Regions from separate parts of the Homo sapiens genome. Here regions 2, 3 and 4 are each linked to region 1. Evidence: promoter capture Hi-C in human tissues and cell types (Jung and others, 2019). All regions are on one chromosome and are shown on one strand. The core of a region is centred on a gene start or on the middle of the fragment in contact, and the rest is flanking DNA. Distances in the headings are between cores, read along the strand shown. Region 1 holds the start of ZNF433 (zinc finger protein 433). Region 2 holds the start of ZNF799 (zinc finger protein 799). Region 3 has its middle 19 kb from the start of ZNF443. Region 4 overlaps ZNF563 (zinc finger protein 563).

Region 1 (2,815 bases), core at 27-2,526:
CAGATTAACCATCAGACAGGCTTCACTATACCTGGACAGGCCTCATTATACCCGCTTCCTTTAGGAGTTTCCACATAGCCACTGACCCACCTTCATGTTAAAACAGACATCAGCCAACTGGAAACACAGACTCTCTGTGACAATAAGAAACCAAATTACAAACAAGACCTAAGGCCATGCAAGGCAAGAGGTAAGTCAAATCTTAGAATTCACAAAATCTAAAGAAACAGGTCTTTTGTTTTGGGTGGGATGAAATCATATGACAGATACCAGACCCTCTTCACTTAAGCAATCCTTCCTACCGCCTCGAAGTTTTAGACAAAGCTTCACACTCTCCACCAACGGCCACCTTCAGAATCCCTCAACCACCTGCACCTTCTAACCCCCCTTCCACAGGTCCCGCCCTTTCTGCCAAAGGAACTTACACCTTTCCAGGCATTGATGCATGATTCTCCCTGCAATTCCTGTCTCCCTGAAATGAATAAAAACAGTCTTGAGCCGCCTCGGGACCACTTACTTCAGGCCTCCTGGGGTTGTGTTTTCCTCAGCTGAGGCCTCTCCTATTCGGCTCTGAATAAACTTCTTTAAGTTATTTTACACAGCTTGGCATTTTCCGTTAACAAATTACAAGCCAGGACTGGGTGTTTATCATTCAGGAATCTCAAAGGAACTCTAATTATTAATATATTTTTTAAAACCTATTCTGAGAAGCAAAACTATAATTGTTAACGTGTCTCAGTTTAATTTTTAAGAGGAGAAAGGCGCTACTGGGGACCCCACAGCCCACCCTCCTCCTACACAAACCCCCACACCCGAGGCGGGATCCCCCCATGACCCTCGCGTAGTCCCCGCACAATGTGGGGAGACGCGGGGCAGCGGGCGCGGAGCTGCCCAGAGAGGGCTCTGGGAACTGGGTGACAGTCACCGCGCAGGGACAGGACGAGACGCCCGGGTCCCGGCGGCCGGCCCAGCCCCACTGTGGGGCCAAGGGGACCAAGGGCCGAGCTGTCCCACGGGAAATCGGGTCCCAGACCCCGGAGTCGCCGCGGGGAGGCCCGGGTCCCACCACAGCCGGTTCCGGCCGGTTCCAACCAGCTCCTCCCCCGCCTCGGGACCCCTGGCCCGCACGCTCACCATTTCTTGCCTTTCAGGTGACTCCCACGACCAGTGCGGGTCACAGCACAGGCGACAGAAGCTATGGCAGAGGCACCTGAACCCTCTCGGAGGGGAAAGCCAGGCTCCCAACCTCAGCTCGCCGCCTGGAGCCGGGAACCGAGGAGAGCAGGGCCTTCGCCCTCCCCGATGGACACTCGGCAGGCCCCGCCCAGCGCCCCTGATTGGACGAAGCGCCGGGCCCCGCCCCCTCAGCCGTGAGTGACAATAGAAGCCCTTGGTAACGGGGCTCTGAAAACGGGTTTGACCGGATCCAGCGATAGATTCTTTAAGCCAGAGGTCTGTAACCTTTTTAGCACCAGAACCGGTTTCGTGGAAGACAGTTCTCCTACGGGGGCAGATAGTTTCGGAATGAAACTTCCACCTCAGATCAGGCATTTTATCCTCATAAGGCGAACCCAACCTAGATCCCTCGCATGTGCAGCTCACAATAGGGTTCGGGCTCCTATGACAGACTAATGCCTCTGCTGATCTGACAGGAAGCATATCTCTGGCGATAATGCCCGCTGGCTCGCCCGCCAGCCGCTCACCTCCTGCTGTGCGGACTGGTTCCTTACAGGCCATGGACCGGGGGTTGGGGACCCCTGCCATAGAGTACTGTTGAATAGAAACTTTAGCTCGTCCGGCGGTGGGCTGGGGGGGTGGGGGTAGCTCATGCCTGTAACCCCACCACTTTGGGAAGCCAAGGCAGGCAGATTGCTTGAGCCTAGGAACTTAAGCCCAGCCTGGGTAACATAGCAAAACCCCGCCTCTACAAAAAATACAAAAATTAGTCGGGCGTGGTGGTACATGTTTGCAGTCCCAGCTACTCGGAAGGCTGAAATGAGAGGATCGCCTGAGCCCAGAGAGGTCGAGGCCACAGTGAGCTGTGATTTTACCAGCCTGGATGTCAGAGTGAGACCCTGTCTCCGAAAAAAAAAAAAAAAAAAAAGACAGGGAATTGCAGTGGAGTTTAATATACATAGAGCCGGCTAAATGAAAGAGAAGAGTTTTATTTTTATTCAATTCTGTCTCCCTAAAAAATGGGAGGCTAGGTTTTGTTTTTTTGGTTTTTTTTTGAGACGGAATCTCTCTGTCGCCCATGCTGGAGTGCAGTGGCGCAATCTCGGCTCAGTGCAACCTCCGCCTCCCGGGTTCAAGCGATTCTCCTGCCTCAACCTCCTGAGTAGCTGGGATTACAGGCATGCGCCACCATGCCCGGCTAATTTTTGTATTTTTAGTAGAGACGGGGTTTACCATGTTGGTCAGGCTGGTCTCAAACTCCTGACCTCATGATCCACCCGCCTCGGCCTCCCAAAGTGCTGGGATTACAGGCCTGAGCCCCCGCACCCGGCCGAGGCTAGGGTTTTAAAGATAATTTGGTGAGCAGAAGGCTGGAAAATGGGGAATGCTGATTGGTCGCGAAAAGGATATCACAGGAAGTCTCAGCTGTCTTCTTGCACTGAGTCAGTTCTTGGCTAGGGGCCACTGGAGCAGGTGAGCCAGTTTATTGGTCTGTGTGATGCCAGCAAATTTATCAGAATGAAGGGTCTCAAAAATACCTCAAACACCAATCTTAGGTCTTACAACAATAATATTATCCACAGGAGCAAGTGAGAAGGTTGGGAATCTTGTGTACTCTGGCCGCATATTTCCTGAACCA
Region 2 (2,700 bases), core at 158-2,657, 370 kb after region 1:
GGTCTGGAACTACTAAGATTAAGCAATACCTCTGCCTTAGCCTCCCAAGGTGCTGGAATTACAGGAATGACCCACCGTGTTCAGGAACCCAAAATAATTCTTTCAAGAAAAAGCCATACATTGCTAGCTGAAAACAAGATGACAAACTAGTGAAATATCGCCTGGGGGCCAAACAGTTCATACCGTTGCTGTGAATTAAGGACAGAAGGTTAGCCTGGGGAAGTCTCTGGAAACCAAGAGATTTGCTGCCAGCCCTAGGAGGAGTCAGGATGAGAGAACACAGTGGTGGATTTGAGACCCTGCTAACCACATCTTTGGAAGACTCAGAGGGGAAACGGTCGCCCTTGGAAAGAAAGAAGGGACTGAGGACCACGGAGACCACAGCTCCTCCCACACACAAACCCCACACACGAGTCTGGATTCCACCTGGTGACTCGTCGTCACCGTGCAGCCTCCTCACCGGGTTCACAGGAACTGCGAGCCAGGCTGGAGGCGAGATTGCAGTTAGATATTAACCAGGTGCCCTCAGCCCCGCTGCCTCAAGGGGCCGCCTCCCTGAGAGTCAGGTCACAGCAGACGCTGACCGCCGGCTTCCCCATTGTGCCTGGGGATAAGATCTCTGAGAACTGCTCAAGAGTCGCCGGAGTTCTCAGATCCTGAATCCCAGCAAAGGCTGGCGCCAATCAGGTTGAAGTCCCAACGAGGGAGCCCATTCAGCAGAATGCGGTTTCTTCACCTCCTGTCCCAGGATTCACCCCTCACTTCCCCACCAACCAACGACCCTACACCCAGCCGCCCCCGTCCAGACCCCAAATCCCTCAGGGAGGCGGATCTGGGGTGTCCTCCCCTCTCTGGCTATTAAACTGTTTCTGCTGCAGCCCTCAGCGTCTCGGTGCAGTGAGTCGGGCCGCGAACCTGTGTTGCTTACAGCCGCACAATCTCGGGAGACGCGAGGCTGCGGGCGCGGAGCTGCCCAGAGAGGGCGCCGGGGCCGCAGTCGCCGCGCAGGAACGGGACAGGACGCCCGGGGTCCCGGCTGCATGCCCAGCCCCACCCTGCGGCCGAGGGCCGACCTACGCCAGGGGAACCCGGGTCCGTAGATCCCGGAGTAGCCCTTGGGGAGGCCCGGGTCCAGCCACAGCCGATTACTGCAGGTTCCACCCAGCCCCTCCCCCGCCTCGGGACGCCGGCCCAGCACACGCACCATTTCCCGACTTCCGCGGTGTCCCAGGTCCTCCGGACGGCTCCCGCTGCCAATGCGGGTTCCCGCGGGACACAGGCTGCCACGGAACTTCCAGGTCGTCTCTTAGCTACAGAGCCGAGCACCGAGCGCCCAGCGCAGGTGGGTGGAGAAGACGCCGCGGGCTTTTTCAACCACACACTCCTCTGGGAAGCGCGCCTGATTGACAGTTCCCACGAACCCGCCCCACGGCCCTTACTGGATACGGCGTCAGGTGCCGCCCCTCGTGGACTGATTGACAGAAGAAGCGATCTTGCACAGCTGAGTGGAGCCAGATGAGCAAGTTCCTGACACAGCCCTTGGCAGGGCGGGCTTCCTCCCTGCTCTTTGATCTGAATCCTCCCGAGGGATATTTGCACTTAAGCGGAATTTCCTGCCTGTACTCAATAGGACCTCCTGCTTCTTCCTCCTGTACACTGACTGACAAAACAATTATACTTTTTTTTTTTTTTTTTTTTTTTTTTCCGAGAGAGAGAGAGAGAGAGAGAGAGAGAGAGGGAGTCTTGCTCCGTGGCTCAGGCTAGAGTGCAATGGTGCGAGGCTCACTGCGACCTCCGCCTCCTAGGTGGGTTCAAACAATTCTGCCTCAGCCTCCCGAGTAGCTGGGATTACAGGTGCGCGCCACCACACCCGGCTAATTTTTGTATGTTTTAGTAGAGGCCGGGTTTCACCATGTTGGCCAGGCTGGTCTCGAACTCCTGACCTCGTGATCCGCCCACCTTGGCCTCCCAAAGTTCTGGGATTAGAGACGTGAGCCATCGCGCCTGGCTCCAATTATACTCTTTTTCAATGAAATTTTTCAAAATATTTCAATGTACAATTAAATTATTTTTTACTATAGTCACTCTGTTGTGCTAGCAAATACTAGGTCTTATTCATTCTTTGTAACTATTTTTTATACCTATTAACCATCCCCACTTCCCCCATAACTACTCCTCGCTACTACTTTTCCCAGCCTGTGGTAACCATCCTTCTACACGTTTTTGGTTGTTTGAGATGGGGTCTTGCTCTGTTGCCTAGGCTGGAGTGCAGTGGGGCCATCATGGCTCACTGCAACCTCTACCTCCCAAGCTCAAGCAATCCTCCCACCTCAGCCTCTCAAGTAGCTTCAGATTGTTCACTGTTGGCATATAAAAATGTTACTGATTTTTGTATGTTAATATTGTATCCTGCAACTTTACTGAATTTATTTCTCAGTTCTAATACTTTTTTGGTGGAGTCTTTAGGTATTTCCAGATATAAGATCATATTATATGCAAACCAGGATAATTTGACTTCTTCCTTTCCTTCCCAATATAGATGCCCTTTATTTCTTTTTTTTTTTTTTTTTGGACTTATTGCTCTAGCTGGGACTTCGAGTACTGTGCTGAACAACAGTGGTAAAAGTGGGCATTCTTATTGTGTTCCAGATCTTACAGGAAAGGCTTTCAGTTTTTCCTCATTCATTATCATGCTAGCTG
Region 3 (2,754 bases), core at 196-2,695, 420 kb after region 1:
GCAAAATGATCATGTCAAATATCCAAGGCAACTTAAGAATCTTTAAAATGACATTAAACAGAAATGTAAACATCATCAACACCTGTGGCCCAAATCAATAGGAAATCTCAAATCCTAAATACTCATGTCCAAATTCATGATCATGCTTTACATGTCTCAAAAATTTTATCCATTATAAAAATAAAGATGAACCATATCTACACCTTTGTTTATGGGGAATCATTACTGTTCATCCCAGGGATGTAGGACTGTATTGTTCCCCAGCATACATCAAACCTGAGCAGTTCCTCAGTGTTTTAATAAGATATGTTAGATAGGCCAGGCTCAGTGGCTCATGCCTGTAATCCCAGCACTCTGGAAGGCTGAGGCAGGTGGATCACGAGGTCAAGAGATTGAGACCATCCTGGCCAACATGGTGAAACCCCGTCTCTACTAAAAATACAAAAATTAGCTGGGCGTGGTGGCACACACATGTAGCCTACTCAGGAGGCTGAGGCAGCAGAATCACTTGAACCTGGGAGGAGGGGGTTGCAGTGAGCCAAAATCACGCCACTGCACTCCAGCCTGGCAACAGAGTGAGACTCCGTCTAAACAAAAAAAAAGGCCAGGCGCGGTGGTTCACGCCTGTAATCCCAGCACTTTGGGAGGCCGAGGCGGGTGGATCATGAGGTCAGAAGATCAAGACCATCCTGGCCAACATGGTGAAACCTCGTCTCTACTAAAAATACAAAAAAAAAAAAATTAGCTGGGCGTGATGGTGGGCGCCTGTAATCCCAGCTACTCCGGAGGCTGAGGCAGGAGAATGGCTTGAACCCAGGAGGCGGAGGTTGCAGTGAGCCAAGATCACACTCCAGCCTGATGACAGAGAAAGACCCTGTCTCAAAAAAAAAAAAAAAAGATATGTTAGATAATGGAAATAAATGATCAATGACAATATTGGAGGTCCCTACCCTCCAAAGCTAAGGTATCCAACACAACCATAGCTTCCCTATTAATCTCACAGGTTGGTTGTTATTTCATTTCCTTCAAAGATCTTAATTGCTTTCTAAAAACCAAATCCTCACCTTTTATTAACCATCTCTCTTTTCCCAAATCTATAAGCAACAGGAAGGCAAGAACTTGTTTCATGTTTCTATATCCATAGCCTACAATGTCTTGATTATTTGTGCTGAATTGTGTATGCTTTGATACTACAGTGCCAGGCCTATGAGAAAGGTTAAAAAAATCAGCATCAAGAGCAAGATGGCTTGATTTGAACAGTGATTCTGTCTTTGCACCTTGCTAGGTTTGTGGTCTCTGAAAACTTATCTACACTTACAGGACTCTGCTAGTGCACAAAAGAGAAAAAAAAGTATATAGTTTGCTAAAGACTCAGTGAACTTACATATTTTGACTGAGATATTTTGTGGAAAACATTGTCCAATACACCATAAGAAATATTTCCATGTTTAGATAATAAGAAAGGTTAAGAGCAGTTCCACAGGACTAGGATCTGACCTCACACTCAGATAAGGCCAAGTCTTATCCTGTTGAAGAGAAAAATGTCACATTTCCTTCATCAGACAAAGCTACTCAGCAATCATGATGGATCAAGACAAAAACAATAACCATGTCTCTAAAAATGGTAAAAGAGAACAGAGTTGAAGCCATTAAAATGACCAAAATTGCCCTCTACTCACTAATCCAAGTGAGTGGTTTCTTAGGAATTAGGTTTAGCTCCACTTCATTCTTCCTGCCTCTAGATAAGAATTATGATTACCAGTGACACAATTAAGTTCACCTCACAGCAGGCAACACACACAGGAGTGTCTCAGTTTGGTGATTAGCAATCAAGTCACCCAACAAATCCAAATCCAAAAAGAAGTTGTTTTGAGAAGGAGTCTTGCTCTGTCGCCCAGGCTGGAGCACAGTGGCGTGATCTCGGCTCACTGCAACCTCCACCTCCTGGGGTTCAAGCAATTCTCCTGCCTCAGCCTCTTGAGTAGCTGGGATTACAGGTGCACGCCACCATGCCCGGCTATTTTTTATATATTTTTTAGTAGAGATGGGGTTTCACCATGTTGGCCAGGCTGGTCTCGAACTCCTGACCTTGTGATCTGCCCACCTTGGCCTCCCAAAGTACTGGGATTACAGGCATGAGCCACTGCGCCCAGCCGAGCACCCTCTTACTGATACTCCCCAGAGTCATTTATGGTTTATGATCATTCTTATTCCTACAATTCTTAACACTCTTCTCTTGACTACAGGTGTGATCCTGGTGATCTTTGAAAAAAAGGCACTGAAACAACCATGATTTAAGTTTTTGGTATTATGAATGCATGAGAAATTTTCTGGGAAAAAATCATAACTATATTAAGAATAAAAAATAAAAAATTCCTAAGGAAAATACTTGATCTTGTATGCACATAATATTGACTCAGAATATATGAGGATTAACTCAATAAACTTAAAAACTTAATCTGAAAATCACTGGATTAAGAAAATGTGGCACATATACACCATGGAATACTATGCGGCCATAAAAAAGGATGAGTTCATGTCCTTTGTAGGGACATGGATGAAGCTGGAAACCACCATTCTCAGCAAAGTATCACAAGGACAAAAAACCAAACACCACATGTTCTCACTCACAGGTGGGAATTGAACAATGAGAACACTTGGACACAGGAAGGGGAACATCACACACGGGCCTGTTATGGGGTGGGGGGAGGGGGGAGGGATAGCATTAGGAGATATACCTAATGTAAAAGACGA
Region 4 (2,716 bases), core at 38-2,537, 280 kb after region 1:
CCTCCTCATAACTGACAACGCTCCTGGCATCTCTCTTCTCTCTGTTATGCCGATAAAAATGGGGAAGTGATGTTCCTGCCTCCTAAAACTACATCACTGCTACAACTACTTGATCAAAGCATCATCAAGTGCCTCAAGGTGTCTTACACCCACTGGACTTTTGGAAGGATTTATGCTGTCTTGATAATAACCCTCACCATGTCATACAGGATTTATGGAAGAGCTTCCCAACTGCAGAAACGATTGTGTTTATTGCGGAGGCTGTAAATGCCCTACAGCTCAAGACAGCCAAAGTGTGTTGGAAGCCATTATGGAGTGAGGAAGTCAATGATTTCAGGCGCTTCTGCACTATCGATATGATAGTCAGAAATATCTTAAATGTAAGGAAAGTTGGTGGGGAAGGCTATCTCTGACACAAGTGAAGACAATGTTGAGGAACACACAGAAGAGCAAAGAAGAAACCTTTACTAACAAGGAACTAGAAGATATGCTGAAATCCTCTATAGATGATGATGATGATGATGTAGATTTAGAAGAGGCAGTGCCGCCAGGCGTGGTGGCTCACGCCTGTAATCCCAACAGTTTGGGAGGCCGAAGCGGGTGAATCACCTGAGGTCACGAGTTTAAGACCAGCCTGGCCAACATGGTGAAACCCCGTCTCTACTAAAAATACAAAAATTAGCTGGGTGTGGTGGCGGGCACCTGTAATCCCAGCTACTTGGGAGGCTGAGGCATGAGAATCGCTTGAACCCAGGAGGCAGTGTTTGCAGTGAGCCGAGATCGTGCCACTGCACTCCAGCCTGGGTGACAGAGTGAGACTCAGTCTCAATAAATAAATAAAGAGGCAGTGCCATAAGTGGTGGCTCATGCCTGTAATCCCAGCATTCTGAGAGGCCAAGGCAGGCAGATCACTTGAAGTCACAGGGAGTTCAAAACCAGCTTGGCAAACATGGCGAAACCCTGTCTCTACTAAAAATACAAAAATTAGCTGGGCATGGTGGTGCATGCCTGTATTCCCAGCTACTTGGGTGGCTGAGGCAGGAGGATCACTTGAACTTGGGAGGTGGAGGTTGCAGTGAGCTGAGATTGTAATCCCAGCTCCTCAGGTGGCTGATGCAGGAGGATCACTTGAACCTGGGAGGTGGAGGCTGCAGTGAGCTGAGATTGCACCACTGCACTTCAGCCTCAGCGACAGAGTGAGACTCTGTCTGAAAAAAAAAAAAAGAAGCAGTGCTATAGATTTTGATACTTGAAAAATCTGAAGGCTGGGTGTGGTGGCTCACCCTGTAATCCTAGTAATTTGGGAGGCCAAGGCAGGCAGATCTCTTGATTCCAGGAGTTCAAGACCAGCCTGGGAAACATGGTGAAACCTTGTCTCCACAAAAAACACAAAAAGTAGCCAGGCATCGTGATGTGTGCCTATAATCCCAGCTACTTGGGAGGCTGAGGTGGGAAGATCACTTGAGCCCAGGAAGTTGAGGCTGCAGTGAGCCATGCACTGTAGGGTGACAGAGTGAGATCTTGTCTTAAAAAAAAAAAAAAAGAAAAGAAAAAGAAAAAAAAAGAAAAATTGGAAGCAGTTTTAGGGCACCTACAGCTTCTACAAGGCGCAAGTGTTAAAGATTATCATCCTCAATTAAGATTCTTCCATGGAACAAAGCCTCCATGTCACCCCAGAGATTACATGCTCACAAACGTTGCAAAGTTTAAAAAAAAAAAAACTAGCTTCCTACAATGTTTCTAATTAAATATCTGCAAATATGAAGACAGCCTTCAATGCTTAAAGATCTTCAGTCCTCAAATTGAACAGATTCTGACATTAGTATTATTTAGACTGCTCCAAAAATTCAGTATCTGCAGTCAGAATCTGTTTCTTCCAATATAGTTGATCATGTTGACATCCTGTCAAGATTCGAGTTAGCCTGAGGTCTCACTGCTTATCTGTGGTGTCACACATCTAGCTGACTCAACACATCACAACATTAGGCACGATATTGCAATAATCATCATTACACTTTTGTTGGGTGAATGTTAACACATTTTCAGGTCATTAAACAAAAGCAATCTATGAGTGTTGAAAGAAAAGATTTATAATGCTCTAGGTGACATGTATTATGTGGGTGGGTCTGTACTGAATATGTGTAGGGTCTTTCTCATATCATGATTCACTAAACAATATAATAACAACTATTTACATAGCTTCTATGATGCATGATGTATTTTAACTAATCTACAGATGATTTAGAGTATACAGGAGGATGTGGGTAGGTTACATGCAAATATTTTTTATTGTTATTATTTTTTTGAGACAGGGTCTCATTCTGTTGCCCATGCTAGAATGCAGTGATGTGATTTTGACTCACCGCAACCTCAACCTCCCAGGCTCAAGCGATCCTCCCACCTCAGCTTCCCTAGTAGCTGGGACTACAGGTACATGTCACCACACCTGGCTAATTTGTGTATCTTCTGTAGAGACAGGGTTTTGCCACATTACCCAGGCTGGCCTCTAACTCCTGGGCTCAAGTGATCCACCTGTCTTGGGCTCCTAAGGTGCTAGGATTACAGAGGTGAGCAACTGTGTCTAACCCAAATATGTCTTTTCTTTCTTTCCTTTTTTTTTTTTTTTGTGTGTGTGACAGAGGTTGTTTTGCTCTTGCTGCCCAGGCTGGAGTGCAGTGGCGCGATCTTGGCTCACCGCAACCTCCGCCTCCCGGAT

The links. The method cuts DNA at HindIII sites, captures the fragments that hold promoters and counts their contacts. A contact is called where the count stands out against the background at its distance.
Region 2: the fragment with the promoter of ZNF799 here is called in contact with the fragment with the promoter of ZNF433 in region 1 in 2 of the 25 tissues and cell types used here (bladder and small bowel).
Region 3: a fragment that was not itself captured here is called in contact with the fragment with the promoter of ZNF433 in region 1 in 1 of the 25 tissues and cell types used here (lymphoblastoid cells).
Region 4: a fragment that was not itself captured here is called in contact with the fragment with the promoter of ZNF433 in region 1 in 5 of the 25 tissues and cell types used here (H1 embryonic stem cells, IMR-90 fibroblasts, aorta and 2 more).

What each region holds. Positions count from the first base shown.
Region 1 is chr19:12,034,403-12,037,217 of GRCh38, forward strand. It overlaps ZNF433 (zinc finger protein 433), which reads right to left and starts at 1,277. Exons shown (of 4, transcript NM_001308348.2): 1 at 1,135-1,277. The coding sequence starts at 1,137. ZNF433-AS1 (ZNF433 and ZNF878 antisense RNA 1) reads left to right here. Exons shown (of 3, transcript NR_134929.1): 2 at 1,152-1,370. RefSeq lists silencers at 812-931, 942-991, 1,232-1,391. The HindIII fragment of the contact is 13,566 bases long and covers 1-2,815 here.
Region 2 is chr19:12,399,864-12,402,563 of GRCh38, forward strand. It overlaps ZNF799 (zinc finger protein 799), which reads right to left and starts at 1,408. Exons shown (of 4, transcript NM_001080821.3): 1 at 1,205-1,408. The coding sequence starts at 1,207. RefSeq lists enhancers at 703-792, 1,513-1,562 and a silencer at 1,023-1,182. The HindIII fragment of the contact is 18,323 bases long and covers 1-2,700 here.
Region 3 is chr19:12,458,313-12,461,066 of GRCh38, forward strand. No RefSeq gene overlaps it. Among named protein-coding and RNA genes, the nearest start is that of ZNF443, 19 kb to the left of the region's middle. The HindIII fragment of the contact is 6,925 bases long and covers 1-2,754 here.
Region 4 is chr19:12,314,866-12,317,581 of GRCh38, forward strand. ZNF563 (zinc finger protein 563) reads right to left here. Exons shown (of 4, transcript NM_145276.3): 4 at 2,612-2,716. Among named protein-coding and RNA genes, the nearest start is that of ZNF563, 17 kb to the right of the region's middle. The HindIII fragment of the contact is 6,161 bases long and covers 1-2,716 here.